Linked DNA regions of Homo sapiens: regions 2, 3, 4, 5, 6 and 7 are each linked to region 1. Evidence: promoter capture Hi-C in 16 types of primary human blood cells and fetal thymus (Javierre and others, 2016). All regions are on one chromosome and are shown on one strand. The core of a region is centred on a gene start or on the middle of the fragment in contact, and the rest is flanking DNA. Distances in the headings are between cores, read along the strand shown. Region 1 holds the start of CHORDC1 (cysteine and histidine rich domain containing 1). Region 2 has its middle 3.6 kb from the start of CEP295. Region 3 overlaps TAF1D (TATA-box binding protein associated factor, RNA polymerase I subunit D). Region 4 overlaps MED17 (mediator complex subunit 17). Region 5 has its middle 3.5 kb from the start of SMCO4. Region 6 has its middle 15 kb from the start of MED17. Region 7 overlaps CEP295 (centrosomal protein 295).

Region 1 (2,700 bases), core at 35-2,534:
TATGCCCTTTACCCCAGAACTGTCGCTTTCCAAAAATTTTCCTAAAGGGGGAAATTCGAAATAAGAAAAACAATACACAGGTTGAGCACTGTAACTTATATATAATAAAGTTGGGGAAATTAGAGAAAGGTTAAATTACAGTGCATTTATTCAACAGAATACTCCGTCATTTGTAACAATGACTATGAAACAAAATAGAAAAATACTCACGTTAGGTTAAATGAAGAAAACATACCTATCTATGGTGGATCACAATATGAAAATTTAATACTTCTAGGTAGAAGAAGAGAAAGAGAATATGAAAAACTAAAAAGTCTTTAGGGGTAGGAGGACGTGAGCAGATCTCTAAATAACCTTGAGATCAATGGAAACAGTGTATAGATTTTTAGGTTCACTTATAAGCTGCTGATCTTATTTTAAGATCCTTCAGTATATGTTATCAAAAAGTGTTTGCTTTTCTTGCAAACGCCCATGTTTGGGAAATATGCAAGTTGAAGCCAATGCATTACTGTACTTTTTATAATGCACCTGAAGTTTTACTAGCTGTTCCAAGAGTGGTGTACTGAGTATTGATAAATCGTTTAAGTGGAGGCTCACATGAAATATTAACTATTACCCCAGGGCTTTAGAGCAACTGTGATCAATTCTGGCACAGCATCAGATCCATAATTTTCTTTGCTACTCTGATTTCTACGTTTTTTGTATTTTCAAAGTAATGTGACCGCAACTGTTAAGTTATTAAAATTGCTCCTGAGATGAGGGCACTCGAGACACAAACACACGGAGAGGTTCGTCCGCTATTCCTCTCATTTACTAAGCTCACACGTCTACCCTGAGGATTTGGAAACACTGTATGATTCTGCACTTACTGTGCACTTATCCCTTAGTGCTAAGGGGTAAACAGATACCCACCGGGCTGTCTAAGGCGCAGCCTCAAGGCAAGGAAGAAGGGTGCTGGGTCGCAGGGGATGAGAGGGCGGGGCGGCCACTTTGCTGCAGGAGATACCCAAAGCCAGTTAGCACTGAGGAAGTCAGAAGAGAATTGTCAGTCTCTCGGACACCTTCATTTTCTGCCCCGGAAATTTCTCCTCCGCTGTTGTCTGGGCTCCACTTCCGACCCCCAGTTGCTACCAGCTGTAGTCCGACCTATCGTGGCCCGGGCTAGTGCCAGCCTCCCGCCGCTACCTCCGCCTCGTCCCTTCTCCTCTGCGCCTGCGCGACCGGAAAATTCGCGAAGGTTCCTGAAACGCAACGGATCGTTTCCGGAAGCCGGTAGCCGCCTCAGTCGTCAGACCGGTGCTAGCGACACGGGAGTGGCAAACGCATCCTCTTGCCGTTCCCGGTGTTTGGGCCTTGCCTGTGACGGTGGGAAAAGAAAATGGCCTTGCTGTGCTACAACCGGGGCTGCGGTCAGCGCTTCGATCCTGAGACCAATTCCGACGGTAAGAGGAACGCGCCGCCAGCCCTCCCTCCCCTCCACCTCATCAGCAGGGGAGGCCCTTTGGGCCGGAGGGTGTCCGCGGATCTCCTGCAGCCGTCCTCGCGCGGCCCCAGGTCCATGCCCCTCCTGGGCCTCCCTTGGCTGCCCGCGCAGCCCGCCGGCCGCCCCTCTGTTGCGCCGCGTTCCCTTGGCGAGCGCCCGGCCCCGGCGCCTGACTGTCCTCTGCCACTGCGGAGAGAGACGCTCCCATGGATCCACGTGTTTCCCCCGTCGTCCCCGCACTCCTTTTAAGTCGCCTGGAATTTAGAACGAACACGTTTCTCCTCTGGCCCTCCAGTCTCTGGGGAAGCAAAAATTAACGAGGTACTGGTGAGCTTGCTTTGTAGTTCCCGAAGTAGTGATGGCTGTGATTGCCTGCGCGAGAGGGAGAGGTGGCCGGGATGAGCAGCGGGTTGTCCTAGCATGTAAGCTCTGCCTTGTAGAAGTTTGTGTTCAGTCGATCCGCTGTTACAAACCTCTTACAAGTGTTCTTGGTAAGGGACATTACTCTGTATCTTCACGCTGTTTTGATAGGTTCATCCTGGTGGTACGTTAGTTATCTTTTTATTACTAGCGGCATTTGTTGCTTGTTCTTCTTGTGGCCTCCACGTTTTACTACCATGCCTACTCCCGTATAAAATGAGTGAATGTCATCTACAGCACCTAGATGTCGAGTTAAGGATCCAAAGCGAAAATGACTATTAGGTGAAGGACGGGAAATGATCAGTGAATTGAAATTTTGATTGACAAAGAAGTGAGATGATTCCTTGCGTATCGTGAGAAGTGACAACACGTTTTCAGATTGAACTAGCATTTAGTTTATATTTTCTGCATGCCAGCCATTATTGCTTTATCTTATTTAATCTTCATAACCACCCTGGGACGCATGTAATGTTAATTAGACCCATTTGATAGAGAAGCTCAGTTCAATGAGGTTGTATTAATAACATCCTTCATTATTGTGGAGGAGATGAAAACTGATGCCTTTTGAACTCTTCACCTCTGAGATGTTTGAAATACTTATTTTTGGCACACAGGTAAATTGATAGCGTTATTTAAAATAAGACCATTGATACAGAGTTTTAAGGAAAAGGAAAATCCAACCTATGCAATACTCAAGTTACCGCCACTGACATTTTTATGATGCAAATATGATGCTACTCATGAGGAAAATTGTGAGATTTCAGTCGATGACAAAATCGAGAAACGATTTTAAAGCC
Region 2 (2,700 bases), core at 8-2,507, 3.4 Mb before region 1:
GGCAGAAATTCTACACTTGGAGATTTTGAATCGAGACTTGTTCTGTTTTTAATAGAAGGCAGTGAGGAATCAAAGCCCAAGTGGGCTTAGAGTCAGAGCATCTGGCTTAGCATTACCACAGATACTTTCTAGCCGTGGGACCTCAAATCAATGAGTCTTCATTTCTGTTTTGGCGATCAATTGCTGCCAACCGAACCACCCTGGAATGTCCAACATGGGTCACTTACTATGGCTGGCAGCTGACGTTGGCTGGCAGCTGAGAGCTCAGCTGGAACTGTTGACTGGAGTGTCCACTCATGACCAGTCCATGTAGATTGGACATCTCACTCTATTGTGGCTAGTTTGGAGAGGGAGCATCTTAAGAGTGAGCATTCGCAGAGGAATAAAGTGGAAGCTGCAAGTCCTTTAAAAGGTGAGGCAGAGAACGAGTTGTAGTAAGTTGTATCACATTTTATTGGTTAAGTAACATGGAGCCAGGCCAGATTCAAGTGAAAGGGAAATGAACTCCATCTCTCAATGGAGGCAGTGACAAAGAATTTGTAGCCATCTTAATCCACCACGTTTCTTAGTAATACTTCATGTCGCCTCTCTATAGGATGGTTGTGAGACTCAAAAGGCATGAATCATATGAGAGCACTTTGTAAACTCTAGAGGGGTATACACATACTAGGTAGTTTAGCAGTTATTTATTTTATTTTTCTGTCGAACACCTTTCTCTCCTCCTCTGGTACAGACCCAGACCTCTAGGCTACCGGGGTAGGCATGTGACCCAGACTGGACAAATCGCAGTTCTTGTTTCCATTGCCATTGTGACCAACCGAGGTACAGGTATGTTACCTAATTGGGGCAATCAGAGTCTTTCACAGGAATTGGCACTGGAGACAGCAGAGACAAATATTTTCCTCTCTGGGCTCATGTTAGGATGTAAACCTGGAGCTTTCCCAGGTGGTCCCCCACAAGCTGGTCTGAAAGAATGAGTGTGACAGCAAGGAGCGCAGAGAGAGAATTTGGATAGTGTTCAAGTCCCTGGATCTAGCCATACCTGAGGTCAATATGCCTGCCTATTCTGCAGCAAACTGGTAGCAGCCATTCAGTCTTCTACTGAAGCTGCTTTGAATGGGAATTTCTATTTTTTTGCAAATTAAAAAGGGCTGTAGATTTTTATTTAAATTCTCATAGACAAACACATCTGGACATCTTGGGAGATAGTATAGAATAATGTTTAAGATCTTGGCTGAGCACAGTGGCTCACACCTATAATCCCAGCACTTTGGAAGGCCGAGGCAGGAGGATTGCTTGAGCCCAGGAGTTTGAGACCAACCTGGGAAACATAGGGAGACTTAATCTCTACAAAAATATTTAAAAATTAGCCAGGTATGGTGGTGTGCACCTGTAGTCCTAGCTACTTGGGAGACTGAGGTGGGAGGATAGCTTGAGCCCAGGAGGTCAAGGCTGCAGTGAGCTATGATTGTGCCACTGCAGTAAGTAAACTTTGGGCAACTGAGTGAGACCCTGTCTGAAAAATAAAAATGTTACATAGATTTCTTCCAAATGGATTTAAATTTCTGGCTAACTCTGTGACTTTGAGCTAGTTACTGGACTTCTTTAAAAGTCTGTTTCCTCATCTCTTAAAGAGATGTAGTGAAAGTACTCAGGTTCTTGTGAGGTTTAAAGCTCTTGAAACAATGTCTGGCACAACATGTGCAATAAATGTTACCTTTTTTGGCTTTAATTTTAATACATTCATTTTAGAATACAAGAGAGGGAAAAAAACCCAAACTCTTAAATGTGTTTATTGGTGTTTTGGATTTGATTTTTTTTTTTCTTTTTTAGTAGAGATGGGCTATTGCTTTGTTGCCCATGTTGGTTTCAACTCCTGGACTCAAGTGATCCTCCCACCTTGGCCTCCCAAAGTGCTGTGATTACAGGCATGAGCCACCACACCCGGCCTGGTTTGATTTTTAATTCAGTCTTTTTGTAGAGTTTAGGCCTAGGGAGAAGTATGTGTATTTAGTTTCTAGTATTGTTAACCTATTGAGAATGAACCTCAGTAACCAGTGATCAAGAGGAAGAATTGTCCTCAGCAGTAATGACATTAGTGTCACTGGTTTATAATGCTGCCACTCTTCAAAATGCAACTGAAGCCATTTAAGATTTGAACAGTTTAAGATGTTTCTCTGATGGCAACGGTTTCACTGTTTCATCTTTATCCACATCCAATATAAGCAAATGATATTTAAGTGGGGAGGAACCCTCAATAATTCTTATGTATAAACACCAGAAAAAAGGGGGATCTCTGCAAGAACAAAAGTAATCAAAGAACTTCCATCTGACCATATGCTAACTGCCCTCTTTCTCCCTAATATACACACCACAGGAGCTTAACAAGTGACGGTGTCTCGGTAGAATAATTTAGAGCTACTACCAGGAGTGAAATTAAGAGTGCCAGGCAGGAGAGGAAGGATAGGCTGAGAAAAACTTTTAAAAGCTGTAAATATTTTTTAGAGGTATAGGGTAGGAGTTGAGCCAAGGAATTGAGCCACTTGCTTAAAGACAGTAAGAAGCAAGAGGAGATAATAGGGAAATTCACTGGCTCTGTTCCATCTTTTAAATCTTTCCCAGCACATTGCTAATATGATGTGTATCAAAAATACGAATACCTGTTAAGACATAAGTGGGTAGAGTTTGAGTTTCATGCTT
Region 3 (2,700 bases), core at 161-2,660, 3.5 Mb before region 1:
TTGAATACATTTAGAGGGTAACAACTGAAAGAACCTGTGAATAGAATTTCTGGATTTCTTTTTAAAGAAACTGATCTGAAATGGATAAGAAGCTTAACCTTGGTAAATGATTTCGCCTGAAATCATTGGCATAGTCTGACCACGTTCAACACTGTAGTAGATACTGTCAATATTTAGGGAAGCTTTGTCATATTTACTAAATTTCATAATTTCAGAAAACTGTTTAAAACAAAGAGCAATTGATGGATAAATCAGGAATAGATTCTCTTGACCATGTGACATCTGATGCTGTGGAACTTGCAAATCGAAGGTGAGTGGATTCAATCATGTTTATTGTATCTGAATTATGAGAAACTATTGTATATAATGAGTGACAGTAAAGATAATTTTCAGGAATTGGGAAAGAAGGAAAACTAGATTTCACTGACCTTCCAAGTTTATCTAGTTACATAGATTGATATAATAGCATTGCAAATACTTTAAATTCAAAATGTGAATATATTATGGGACACATTCGTCGAGAAAAAATGTATTCTTTGGGTCATATTAGCATCTCTTCCAGACTACATCCTCCGGTTCGGTAGGCTGTGTTTGTTTTACTCAGACACTCTTAGCAGTGAACCGAACCATACAGCCTTTTGGAGCTCATACATTGTCTTGAAAGATACAGTTTTTTTGTAAGCTGAGCATAGTGGTGCATGCCATTAGTCCTAGCTAGCTACTTGGGAGGCTGAGGCAGGAGCATCCCTGGAGTTTCCAGGAGTTTGAGGTTGCAGTGAGCTGTGATTGCACCACTGCACTCCAGTCTGGGTGACAGCAAGACGATGTCTACAAAACTCTTTAATAAGAGCTGTAGCATTATGGGCTATTTAAATAGGATGATCAGTAGAAAGGCTAGCTGGTTCTGAGCCCATCCTTTAAAAAATTTTTAATTCTGGGCATGTTTTCTGAGTTGGTCTTGGAAGAAATGTACATTTAGGACTGGGTATTAATGGTAATAAGCAGTAAGAAAAGAAGATGAAATTAATTTTTTTCCCATTTTTCTAGTGATAACTCTTCTGATAGCAGCTTATTTAAAACTCAGTGTATCCCTTACTCACCTAAAGGGGAGAAAAGAAACCCCATTCGAAAATTTGTTCGTACACCTGAAAGTGTTCACGCAAGTGATTCATCAAGTGACTCATCTTTTGAACCAATACCATTGACTATAAAAGCTATTTTTGAAAGATTCAAGAACAGGAAAAAGAGATATAAAAAAAAGAAAAAGAGGAGGTACCAGCCAACAGGAAGACCACGGGGAAGACCAGAAGGAAGGAGAAATCCTATATACTCACTAATAGATAAGAAGAAACAATTTAGAAGCAGAGGATCTGGCTTCCCATTTTTAGAATCAGAGAATGAAAAAAACGCACCTTGGAGAAAAATTTTAACGTTTGAGGTGAGTCAGCATTTTACATACATGGCTACACATAACTCAAGATGCCCAAAATGATTTGTTGGCCAATTTAGAATTGTCTCAGATATACTGGGAACAGACTGTCTGCAATTTTGATACTCTTCTATACTGACTTACCCCTAAAGTCCACCCTATCCTTCAACTGAATCTTGACTTGTATCTCTTAATATAACTACACTTTGCCATATTTAAAAGATAGTGCTCCAAGGCTCTTTGTATAAAATCCTTTGATCTTATCCCATCTCAGGTCTTTAAACACAACCCTAAAACTCAGTGGGGATAATAAAAGCTCACATAACTTGAAATTACTTTTGCAGTAACCTAAACTAAAACCACACATGCCTTATGTTCAGTGGATATATTCTTAAGGCCTAGATGTTTCTAAGCCAATTATCTGAAAAATACGCTAATACTTAGGAGTAGACTTTTTTAAATATTTGAGAGTTGTATGTTGAATGAATTCAGAATTAATTTATGATCCCTTGCCAGAACCTGAAATTTTATTTGGGAGGATTAATACATGTTAATCTCTTCAGTTAATCTCTTAAGTTTAAGGTGATTATAGTAAACATTAGAAATCTTATTCCTGTTTTTACATTTTAAAATGCCTTTAGTAAGTCCCAGACATGACAAGATATGTACTTCACTTTTCCATGTTACCAGCTTAGGTAAATTCATAATTGTAATGTGAATTTTAATAATCAGCATTTGATAAGTCCACAAGTGGGGAGTAGTTAAGATAGCAAATTCAGAGTCTTTGCTAAGGGGGGGCATTGCCCTTTTTGAACATAGGCACCTGCTGGGTCTTAAAAATAAAATCTCGACATACTTATGGTGTTTTTAATATATAGCAAGCTGTTGCAAGAGGATTTTTTAACTATATTGAAAAACTGAAGTATGAACACCACCTGAAAGAATCATTGAAGCAAATGAATGTTGGTGAAGATTTAGAAAATGAAGATTTTGACAGTCGTAGATACAAATTTTTGGATGATGATGGATCCATTTCTCCTATTGAGGAGTCAACGTAAGTGGAATCATATGAAATACTTTGGTAATAGGTTATAAATTAAATTTCTATGTTAATTGCTTCATATTTTGCCTTTAATATAGTTATACTTAAATAATGAACAAAGATACAGAGTATGACAATTGGGATTATTACAGTTGAGCCAAGCTTGGCACACCGTTCATCTAGAATTCTCCAGAACACAAAATTCTCAAATTTTGTGTTTCCTTTGACT
Region 4 (2,700 bases), core at 140-2,639, 3.6 Mb before region 1:
ACTATGGATAGCACACTATTTCTTTGCTCTCATTATTCTCCCAATACACCCTAAGAGCTACCTTCTCTGTCCTAGTCCCCCAAAACACAAAGTCCTGTTCATAAAGTCGAAAAAGGGCTGCTCTTACTCGGAAAGGGCTGAGAGATAATCTGGTTTTTCACCACAATGTGAGGGACTTGTGATTTAATTTGAACAGCTTCCCGAGAGAGCTGTGCAAAAATTTCTTTACATAAGAGAACATTCTGTGCCGCTTCTAATTTTGTCTGCCAATGTGGGGAACCTGAAAGACAAGAAATATATGTATCAATTATCTAACCATATTATGCATTAACTAGTTTAAATGGTGATCTGAATACATATGACAAAAGTTTAGGAAAACACTACATTACGGTATATTCTTTTTTTTCCTATTCAGTCTCTATAGAGACTGTCAAAAATTGCCAATGCCAACTGTGTTACAAATCATCCCGGCAGGGTATTGAGAAGTTCCCCACCACCCCAATCTTTCATTCCTGAAGAGGAAAGTTTAAATTCCTGTAGAGGGAAGTATCAATTAGCAATAATCATGCCACAGATAAACCTCACTGGGTTTGATACTGCCACTGTGCAAAGCTATATTCTTTCCAAAATATAAAAATCTCACTTCTTTAACACAAAAAACCAGTAAATAAGTCCAATCTTAAAAAAAGGTGCTGGTGGCTCATGCCTGTAATCCTAGCACTTTGGGAGGCTAAGGCGGGTGGATTACCTGAGGTTGGGTGTTCGAGACCAGCCTGACCAACATGGAGAAACCCCATCTCTACTAAAAATACAAAATTAGCCAGGAATGGTGGCGCATGCCTGTAATCCCAGCTACTCGGGAGGCTGAGGCAGGAGAATCGCTTGAACCTGGGAGGTAGACGTTGCGGTGAGCCGAGACTGCGCCATTGCACTCTAGCCTGGGCAACAAGAGAGAAACTTGGTCTCAAAAAAAAAAAAAAAAAAAAAATTGCACAGCTATTCACTAATAGTTTATTGATAAATTTTAGAAGTATATTTTGAATTGTTCTTACTTCAAACTATCTATTTTTTCCTACCTATATTTATCTTCAGTTTATTTTAAAATGTCAGCTCAAATAAGACCAGAAATTAGAGAATAGAACATAACCATACCTGGTTTGGATTTGGGCAAAGGTCGTTTGAAGAGGTTAACTGTGCCGAGGTCACCTATATCTGGAGCCTGTTTTTGTATTGAAACCTATATGACAACAAAAACAAAAAAAGTTAACAAATTAACTTCAGGCTATTCGTAAGAAATTACTTGAAAAATATTTTGACAAATACCTTGATATATGCAGACCCCTCTAAATCACTAGGAATTTGGACATCAAGAGGACAGTAATCTTCAGGTATCTTTTTATCCAGATCGAGATCTGTATTCTTTATTACTTCAAATGTACCATGATGAGGAAAGAGAGATCCTAATGTTGTATTAAAAATAGGAAAATATAAAACAGTTAACATATTATTCCGACACACATTATTAAATATATAATACTTCACATCCACATCACTGAATCACAAAGTAAGTCCCCACTAAAAAACATATGTTTTGGGGGAAAAGGGTGAGGAATGGTGAACAAAGGAAAGAAAGATAAAGGTGGGGGGTGGTTATTTACCTTAAAAAAAAAAAACACTTCTTAGTCTAATGACATCAACATAATAAGAATTCCACAGAAAATCCAAATTGTTTTATTCCAATGGAGTATTGATAAAAATGGGTGTACTCACAGGGCAGGCATGGTGGCTCATGCCTGTAATCCCAGCACTTTGGGAGGACGAGGCGGATGGATCACCTGAGGTCAGGAGTTCAAGACCAGCCAAGACCAACATGGAGAAATCCCCATCTCTACTAAAAATACAAAATTAACTGGGCGTGGTGGCACATGCCTGTAATCCCAGCTACTGAGGAGGCTAAGGCAGAATTGCTTGAACCCGGGAGATGGAGGTTGTGGTGAGCTGAGATCGCGCCATTGCCCTCTAGCCTGGGCAACAAGAGCGAAACTCTGTCTCAAAAAAAAAAAAAAAAAAAAAGAGGTGTACTCCTAGAAATGAAACCTTGGGGATGAAATACTTCTGGAGCTTAGCCTCTCTACTAAGGTTTCAACTAAGTGCTCTGCATCCAACAACAGAAAGACAGAGGATAGTGCACATAACATCTTTTTTTCAACCAGTTTCCTAGATTTTTTATTTTTTATTATCTTTTTAGAGACAAGGTCTCCCTCTGTCTTCCAGGCTGCAGTGTGGTGGTGTAATCATAGCTCACTGCAGCCTCAAACTCCTAGGATTTAACAATCCTCCCACTTCAGCCTCCCAAGTAACTAGGACTGCAGGTACATGCCATCACACCCAGCTAATTTTTAAGTTTTTTTTCTTAGAGATAGGGTCTATGTTGTTCAGTCTGGTTTTGAACTCCTGGGCTCAAGCAATCCTCCCACCTTGGCCTCCCAAAGTGCTGAGATTACAGGTGTGAGCCCCCATGCCCAGCCCAGTTCCTAGATTTTATGTGATGTGTTTTTGTGTAGGTCAGGAGTTTGGGTAAGTTGTTCTGGGCCATTGAATTACATAAGAAATAGGTGGTTCAATGTAACTGGTTTTATAACAAGGGAAGATGCTAAAGATTTTCTTGCAATTAAAAACAATGTGATCAAATCCTTTCAT
Region 5 (2,700 bases), core at 122-2,621, 3.3 Mb before region 1:
AACAAAAAACCCACATCCAAATGATTACAAATATAATAATCATTGATACAAGAATTGCATACATTTAGCTTTACATTGCTCTGATTACTCTCATTTTACCTCTGAGTTGTGAAAAACCTGTCTGTGGATTTGCAGCCATCGGCAGATAACTCTGGAACTTCTGCTACAGAGAATGCACAGCCAGGCATGAACAGGGGCCAAGGGAGTAGGTTTATGAACATACATTCCTGACCTCAGCTCCTGGCAGCTGCAGTCAGGCAGCAGTTTTGAGGGTTCCTACTTCTGCAAACATTCTGAGACATGCAGACCACCATTCTAGGCCTCCCCCTCTTACTTCATTACTTGCATAATTTATCCCTCAAGGACAGTACAGCATAGCACAACACATGGCTTATCTCTGATGCACAAGGTTGTGTTTCTTCATTTATCCTGCACACGAGTCTTTGTCCTCCCCACAGCATCACAAAGGGACCCAGCAGAGAGAATCTTCCACAGCCTACACTCATTATATTCTCTTTGTCTTTTCTCCTTCTTCCTACAAAGTTAATATCACATGGATTAAGTCAGAAGACTCACAAGGCTTATATTATTCATTCATTTGTTTGCTCATTTATTGATTGATTTAATACATATTTATTGAGTTCCTGTATGCACCAGGCTCCATGCTAGGTATTGAAGGTATAGTAGTGGGCAAGCAAACGCAGTCCCTTTTCTCGTGGAGGGAGAATTCGAGAGACACAAACACATGAGAATATGTAACTATAAAAATATGATGAGAACAGTGAAAAAAACAAGGAGTGTCATGAAAGCGTGCAACAGATGGGGTGGTTAAGAAAAGCTTCTCTGAGAAGACGACATTTAAGGCAAGGCCCGAGAGATTATGTAGTGGACATTCACTGGTTTTGTTATCCTTGATCAACTTTCCCTTCTTTGGTAACAATGCCCTGATGATTATGTTTGGAGGCTTTCATTCAAGGTGTCCTGTTCTTCTCTGGCTGAGGGTAGGCATGTGGCCAAGCTAACCAAGGCTGACGTTCTTCTAGGGTTTGGAATCTTGAGTGGAGTGATGCAAAAACAGAAAAACCAGAGTGGCTTGTTCCACTGGTTGAGCCTCAACAAGGTGTCTGTTAGGAATCAAATCTCCATAAGATTCCTGAGCTGTTTGGTCTTTGAGCTTTCCAAAACTTGGCTGAAGAGACTGAGAGCTACCTCTATGTGCACCAAATTTTTTTGTTTACATTATTTCCCAAATAATGTACCACAGAACTCTAATGGGTTCTGGAAAGCGGGATTTAGCAAAGTGAAGAGTTTGGGAAAGAGCACGTCAGTGGAAGGAACAGCATGTGGAAGGGGCTTTCTGTGAAGAAGAGAAGAGCTTGCTGGTTTGGGGAACAGAAAGAAAGCCAGTTGGGCAAAGTGTGCTGAGTGAGGGGCAGAACAGTACCAATATCTCTGTAGGGGCAAGCTGCACCAGACCTCATGGGGCCATGTATAATCGTTTAGATTTTATCACCAGCACATAGGAAAGTTACAGACATATTTTGAGCATGGGAAGAATATTTTAAATAGCAAAAATGTCACAAAGGAAAAACAGAAGAGTTCAACTAACAGCGTAAAGAACTGTGAATTGGTCATCCCAGTTCTGCTCTGAGCCAGCTCCAGGACCTTGGATATTTGTAAGGCTCTGATGATTTCTCTTAGCCCCAGTTTTCTCATCTGTAAAATGAGGTGGTGGGTTAGATGATCTCTAACTCCATCTCTGATGTTTCGTGATCTATGATAAAACCATGCCAATAAATGTAATTGTCATTAAGGAGCTTACAATCAAGTGGGAGAGATAAACACACCTAACCTCTATGATACCTGCTGTTGATGTTCCAGGGAGTTCTAACGTTTAAAGCTTTTGGTAGCTTACAAGCTGATTTTGCCAGCCCATTGTTATGTTGACTGCCAAAGGATTTTAAACAGTACTAGGCTCAGTAACCAATTCAATGAAGAACTTTCAAAGAGGGTATTTACATGAAGTGTGATGCTCTGCTAAGCTTAGATTTAGTGACTTCAACTGAATGCTTCATAACAGAAAACGCTAGCAAGAGTACTGATTCTTGGGTGAATTTCATCTAGAACTTGTAACTGCAGGAGTGCCTGTGAGTGATCTGTGTGTCAGTTATCTATTACTGTATAACAAACCACCCTAACACTTAGTGATTTGAAACAACCACCATTTTATTTCTCACAATTCCTGGGTTGGCTGGACTATTTTTGGCTGGCTTTCCCTGGAGCTCACTCATGTGGCTGAGAGCTGGTGGGCTGCATAGCTGGGACAGCAAGGCTTTCTCTTCTCAGGGTCTTTCCTCTTCAAGGAGTTGGACCAGGTTTCTTCATGGCAGTCTCAGGATAGCATTTCAAGAAAGCAAGGAGCAAGGCACAAGTGCACATCGAAAGCCCCTGCTTGTGTCATATTTGTTCATGTCCCAGTAGCTAAAGGAAGTCACAAGGCCAACTCCAGGGTCAACGTGGGAGGGAGCTACAGAAGGACAACTCAGTAGGGGTGATTCATTAGAAGCCATTAGTGTAAAATGTGTAAACTTTTCCTCTGAGACTTGCATTGCAAGATACACAACTCTAACCTATAAAGGATGACACTTTCTTTTTCTTTTCTCTCTCTCTCTCTTTTTTTTTTTTTTTTTTTTTGAGACA
Region 6 (2,700 bases), core at 170-2,669, 3.5 Mb before region 1:
GAATACACAATTTAGTCTGGCTCAGTGACTGTGCATATTGTTTTTACATAAACAATAGGGCAGAGAAAACAATCAGATATGCATTTGTCTCAGGTGAGCCTCAGAGGGATGACTTTGAGTTCTGTCTGTCCTTTGTCCACAAGGTATTGTGGACAATTGTGAGGGAGGTATATAGCTTCTTCTCTTTGTAGCTGTCTTATTTAGGAATAAAATGGGAGGCAGGTGTCTGACATAGTTCCCAGCTTGACTTTTCTTTTGGCTTAGTGATTTTGGGGTTCCAAGATTTATTTTCCTTTCACAAGTCCATTTACACATCCAGTTAGATTACATTTCACTAGGTATGGAGAAACTTTTAGGCCAAACTTAAAATATGTAAGGAGGCAGCTTTTAGGCTAAACTTAATTTAACAGTGTACAGTACAATATAGGGCAATACTGGCCGGGTGCAGTGGCTCACGCCTGTAATCCAAGCACTTTGGGAGGCTGAGGCAGGCGGATTACCTGAGGTCAGGAGTTCGAGACCAGCCTGGCCAACATGGCAAAACCCCGTCTCCACTAAAAATACAAAAATTAGCTGGGCCTGGTGGTGTATGCCTGTAGTCCCAGCTACTCCAGAGGCCAAGACAGGAGGATCACTTGAACCTGGGAGGCGGAGATTGCAGTGAGCCAGGATTGCACCATTGCACTCCAGCCTGGGCAATGGAGTAAGACTCCATCTCAAAAGACAAAAAACAAACAAAAAACAATATAGGGCAATACTGATAGGATTTATTCTATTTTATTTCAATTATTTTTTCACCTGAGTTGGGGCTTAGAAAACAAAATTGTAAAATATAGCACTTTGGCATGCTGAATGTTTTGAATTAAGGAATATTAAAAGGTCTCAGAAATAAGCCTCAGAACCAAGGGATCTCTCTGACCTTCCTCAGCTTCCCCATCTCTCTGATCTTCTTCCTTTTCTGAAGCTTCTGGAAGGACTCTGGAACTTCCTTTTGTGAGCAGGGAAGCTTCTTTCCAAAAAAAAAAAAAAAAAAAGCAGTGAATCCCCTCTCTAGGAATCTCATCAAATAACCAGAACAGGTTAACCACCAAAAAGATGACACTGGGAGTTGTCACCATGTCCAGGCAGGCTTTTTTTTTTTTTTTTTTGAGACAGAGTCTCACTCTGTCACCCAGGCTGGAGTGCAGTGGCATGATCTCAGCTCACTGCAACTTCTGCCTCCCACGTTCAAGTGATTCTTCTGCCTCAGCCTCCGGAGTAGCTGAAATTACAGGTGCCTGCCACCATGCCTGGTTAATTTTTGTATTTTTAGTAAAGATGGGGTTTCTCCATGTTGGCCAGGCTGGTCTCAAACTCCTGACCTCAGGTGATCCACCCGCCTCGGCCTCCCAAAGTGCTGGAATTACAGGCATGAGCCACCGTGCCCGATCTGGATTTTTCATTTATTCTTGTGAGTGCAGCTCCACGAGGATTACCTGGGAGACATTATCTATGTAAGATAACCTTTGCTCACAGTAAAGTTCTGCCCCTCATCTTCCTGCCACCTCCCCCAGAGTTCAAAATAACTTTCTTCCAGGCCATTGTTCTTGGAGCTCATTCATTTTCCCTAAAAATCTTTTACTCCTATACCCCCGTGCCCACCATCTCCCCTTCCTCTATGAAGAAGGGTATATAAACATCTGGACCTCATTGGATTATTGAGTAGTCATTCTCCTGAGGTTCCCTCATGCTTATGCACACTAAATAAAGTTTGTATGCCGTTTTCTCCTGTTAGTCTGCTTTTTGTCAGTTTATTTTCAATGAGCCTTCAGAAAGAGTGAAAGGGAAGCTTGGTCTTCTCCTCTATGCATGTCAGTGTCCCCACTAGACCAAGCTCTTCCAGGTCAGGGACTATGTCTTATTCATCTTTGTATTCCTAGTACCTGGCACAGTATGTACCAGTACAATATGTACCATATATACCAGTAGAGTACATACTACTATATACTAATACCACTACAGCATGTACCAGAGCACCTAGTATAGTATGTAATAGTAAATTGCTACTGAATGAAAGATTAGGCCACACAGAGGCTTTACAGGTAAACTAAAAGGAAGCTGAGCTTTAAAACCAAAAGCAAATGGAAATCTGCATTTCGGTGTTGTATCAGTCTGTTCTCGCATGCTGTAAAGACATACCTGAGACAGGGTAATTTATAAAAAAGGTTTAATGGGCTCATGATTCTGCAGGTTATACAGGCTTCTGCTTCTGGGGAGGCCTCAGGAAACTTACAATCATGGGGCAAAGGCAAAGGGAAGCAGGCAGGATGGGAACAGTGGCTCATGTCTGTACCCAGAATTTTGGGAGGCTGAAGTGGGAGGAGCACTTGAGTCCAGGAGTTCGAGACCAGGCTGGGCAATGTGATGAAACCCTGCCTCTAAAATAAAAAAATAAAATAAAATAAAATAAAAATTAGCTGGGTGTGGCATGTGCCTGTAGTCCCAGCTACTCTGGAGGCTAAGGTGGGAGGATGGTTTGAGCCTGGGAGGCAGAGGTTGCAGTGAGCTGAGATCATGCCATTGCACTCTAGCCTGGGTAACAGAGCCATACCCTCTCTCAAAAAAAAAAAAAAAAAAAGGAAAAAGAAAGAAAAAAAAATTTTTTTTTTAAGACGGAGTCTCACTCTGTCGCCCAGGCTGGAGTGCAGTGGCGCGATCTCG
Region 7 (2,700 bases), core at 122-2,621, 3.5 Mb before region 1:
AGCTTCACTTTTCTGCAGACATTTCTGGGTCTCACCACAAACAATACAGTTAATCTGACTGAATATTTTCAGAATGCAAAGTTCATTTGAAAAAAATGCTACGTAACTGTCACTGACAAAGAATAGACATGATGAAGCCCATGAATATGTAATGTAGGACTTTTAAGCGTATGATGTTTTGTTCAGTTGTGTGTAGAGGTAGCGAATGTAGCAAAACAAAATGTAGAGAATTACTGGCTGTAAGTAGGACTACAGCAGGCCACTTTCATAAATCTTCTTCAGCCAAAGATATATATTATGACATATAAAAGATTTTGGAATTACTTTATCAGGATATTAAAAACACACACACACACAATAGCAGCTCTTATGTGCTAAAAAGGCTGACTGAACAAATGAAAGTTTATTTGCAGAAAGCTGCTAAAGAAAAATACCCAAACATATATGCCAAGCGTGCAAATATTTTTTATATGATACCTGCTGTAAAGATCATATCGTACTCCTCCAGGGAAGATGCTAAAATTATTGTGCATGTGATATAAGTTGAGTGCAGATGAAAATTCAGAGGTAATTTTATCTTGAAAGCCAAGCACATTGGTCATCACATTTTAAATCCAAAGTTTAAGGACAGACTTTTCCTAAGTGATACAGTAAAGCAGCAAATAAAAGAAAATATTCGAATAAAAATGTGTTCAGTAATAAACCCATTTCTGAAAATATTCAGAAATCATATCTTCATTCAGTACACAAAGCTTTAGTTTGTGGGAATACTTTCATAAAACTGTTAGAAACAAAATTTGTTTGTGGTCCCGAACTTTTTTCTAACCCTTTATCATTATAACTACTGATCTAATTTTTAAGTCCAAAAATTGAAAAGGAGGTAGGCCTTCTGGTTACTATCAAAAAAGAAAGCTTATGGATATTAATTTAATACCATCAGCAGCACCCTATGCTGACAGAGTTAGGTAAAAAAAAATTCATCATCAATCTTAGTTAAAAGGTAGCATCTTTTCAAATCACAAAAATGCAGTAAACAGTAAAGCAGTTAGCAACAAATTGAAGTTATTGTTCCTACATCATAATATCGAAACTGTAATAATACTTTACAATTTTAAATAAATCTCAGATTTACTCTTGCATCTTAGAAGTTCATTCTGTGATGATATTCATTTTAGTTCTTAACTGAATATTTTAATACCTGCTATTAAGCAGTCAACCAAAATGTGTATTTGTTGCATTCTAAATGCCACAGGAATGCTATAAAATTTATTTTCCTAGTAGAGAAATATATTCAACATGAAAAAAATTAAAACCCCCACTGACACAGAGAAATAGCAATTATAATAACAATATATCATTTGTTACTCTTAAGACTGGCAATAATTTTTAAAACATAATATTCAGTGCAGAAAAGGCTATGGTAAGGTGGTCATTCTCCTATGTTGCTGATGCTTTTAAAAAGCAATTTAATGATCTGTATCAAATGTTACACAGTTTGGAGCCAATACTTTCTCTTTCAGGAATTTATATATAATCAGAGATGTGGATAAAAACGTGCAAGATAATGCTTACATTACTTACAGAAGCAAAAAATAAAATAATGGTTAAATAAATGCTACCATGAAATATTAAGTGGCCACTAAAAATCATGTTTTGAAAAGTGTGTGTATATGTTTATATTTAAATAAAGGTTATAATGAATTTATTAAAACATTAACTATATTCCACTTTGGTGACAGAATTGGTGTTTTCCCAATAGTTTACACTTATATGTACAGTTCCAAATTTTCCACAAATAGCATGTAATATTTTATGATAAAAAAAGCTTTAAAATCTGCTATTTTAAAATAACCATTTAAATAGCCAACTAGTTTCTTTAATTCATATTAAACCATCATATGCCTGACATGAAAATTCAAAGCATTTAAAAGGTTTTGATTATTATTATCAATTGTCCAAATTTTGAAATCTGGGAACACCATACATATAACTAAGATATAATTCAATTCAATGCACACAGAAATAATAAAGCGAGGGCATGAAGAAACAATAAGTCAATCACCCGTTTTGTGTCTGTCTCTCTATTCACAAAAGTGTGAAGATGATGGTAGGTAGAACTATTGGTTTTGACTGCAGAAATTCTTTTTACTTCGATGTTCTGGAAAAGAGAACATAAAAAAATAGGTTAAAAGCATTAATTTTCACTTAAAGCTGAATCCAATGCAAAAAAAGTAATTTTGTATTTTAATGAGTTCTCCGCATCCAAAACATGCTAAATATCTGCTCATAATGAAATCAAATTTTTTGAGTTAAATTACTTCAAATTTTAATAAAAGTACCAGATTCATCAGTATTTCAAATCATCTTCAAGGTGTCGCTAACTAAATGTGTTTTATTCATCTCAATTTTTAAGTTATTTATAGAGAAATTTCATCTTTAAATCTCCTGAATATAGAAGGGCTTACAGGCCATATCAAATGAAATGAAAAGCACTTCATTATATTTATAAGACAACAACATGCACTACTATGTCCTCTTCCATATCTAATCACAAAAATTCTACTGTAGTTCACATTAGTCTTATTTTCTCAATGTTTAATGACGTATTTTGAATTTTGGTCCTGAAACACTTGCCAATATATTTAAATTACACTTACTCCAGAACAAAACAACTCTCAGAAGAATGAAAGTAAACTACCT

The links. Contacts are between HindIII fragments. The CHiCAGO score rates a contact against its expected background, and 5 or more counts as called.
Region 2: a contact is called between a fragment that was not itself captured here and the fragment with the promoter of CHORDC1 in region 1, in 7 of 17 cell types (total CD4 T cells, naive CD8 T cells, activated CD4 T cells and 4 more). The highest score is 21.7, in total CD4 T cells.
Region 3: a fragment that was not itself captured here is called in contact with the fragment with the promoter of CHORDC1 in region 1 in 7 of 17 cell types (total CD4 T cells, non-activated CD4 T cells, naive CD8 T cells and 4 more); the score reaches 13.6 in total CD4 T cells.
Region 4: a fragment that was not itself captured here is called in contact with the fragment with the promoter of CHORDC1 in region 1 in 3 of 17 cell types (non-activated CD4 T cells, total CD4 T cells and total CD8 T cells); the score reaches 7.5 in non-activated CD4 T cells.
Region 5: a contact is called between a fragment that was not itself captured here and the fragment with the promoter of CHORDC1 in region 1, in 1 of 17 cell types (non-activated CD4 T cells). The highest score is 7.3, in non-activated CD4 T cells.
Region 6: a contact is called between a fragment that was not itself captured here and the fragment with the promoter of CHORDC1 in region 1, in 4 of 17 cell types (non-activated CD4 T cells, activated CD4 T cells, total CD4 T cells and 1 more). The highest score is 7.3, in non-activated CD4 T cells.
Region 7: a contact is called between a fragment that was not itself captured here and the fragment with the promoter of CHORDC1 in region 1, in 2 of 17 cell types (total CD8 T cells and activated CD4 T cells). The highest score is 5.6, in total CD8 T cells.

Annotation. Positions count from the first base shown.
Region 1 is chr11:90,221,633-90,224,332 of GRCh38, reverse strand. CHORDC1 (cysteine and histidine rich domain containing 1) reads left to right here and starts at 1,284. Exons shown (of 11, transcript NM_012124.3): 1 at 1,284-1,442. The coding sequence starts at 1,379. It overlaps LOC124902812 (a long non-coding RNA gene), which reads right to left and starts at 1,174. Exons shown (of 2, transcript XR_007062978.1): 1 at 913-1,174. The HindIII fragment of the contact is 11,072 bases long and covers 1-2,700 here.
Region 2 is chr11:93,656,707-93,659,406 of GRCh38, reverse strand. No RefSeq gene overlaps it. Among named protein-coding and RNA genes, the nearest start is that of CEP295, 3.6 kb to the left of the region's middle. The HindIII fragment of the contact is 4,500 bases long and covers 1-2,700 here.
Region 3 is chr11:93,736,847-93,739,546 of GRCh38, reverse strand. It overlaps TAF1D (TATA-box binding protein associated factor, RNA polymerase I subunit D), which reads left to right. Exons shown (of 6, transcript NM_024116.4): 2 at 216-310; 3 at 1,048-1,438; 4 at 2,308-2,483. The coding sequence starts at 243. Among named protein-coding and RNA genes, the nearest start is that of SNORA40, 3.0 kb to the right of the region's middle. RefSeq lists an enhancer at 430-1,629. The HindIII fragment of the contact is 2,451 bases long and covers 185-2,635 here.
Region 4 is chr11:93,792,488-93,795,187 of GRCh38, reverse strand. MED17 (mediator complex subunit 17) reads right to left here. Exons shown (of 12, transcript NM_004268.5): 4 at 1,324-1,460; 5 at 1,153-1,237; 6 at 128-280. It also overlaps the pseudogene LOC124902851. Among named protein-coding and RNA genes, the nearest start is that of MED17, 9.6 kb to the right of the region's middle. The HindIII fragment of the contact is 6,811 bases long and covers 1-2,700 here.
Region 5 is chr11:93,545,583-93,548,282 of GRCh38, reverse strand. It overlaps a transcript of SMCO4 not described here. Among named protein-coding and RNA genes, the nearest start is that of SMCO4, 3.5 kb to the right of the region's middle. The HindIII fragment of the contact is 1,062 bases long and covers 841-1,902 here.
Region 6 is chr11:93,767,656-93,770,355 of GRCh38, reverse strand. No RefSeq gene overlaps it. Among named protein-coding and RNA genes, the nearest start is that of MED17, 15 kb to the left of the region's middle. The HindIII fragment of the contact is 822 bases long and covers 1,009-1,830 here.
Region 7 is chr11:93,675,029-93,677,728 of GRCh38, reverse strand. CEP295 (centrosomal protein 295) reads right to left here. Exons shown (of 30, transcript NM_033395.2): 6 at 2,063-2,158. Among named protein-coding and RNA genes, the nearest start is that of CEP295, 15 kb to the right of the region's middle. The HindIII fragment of the contact is 913 bases long and covers 915-1,827 here.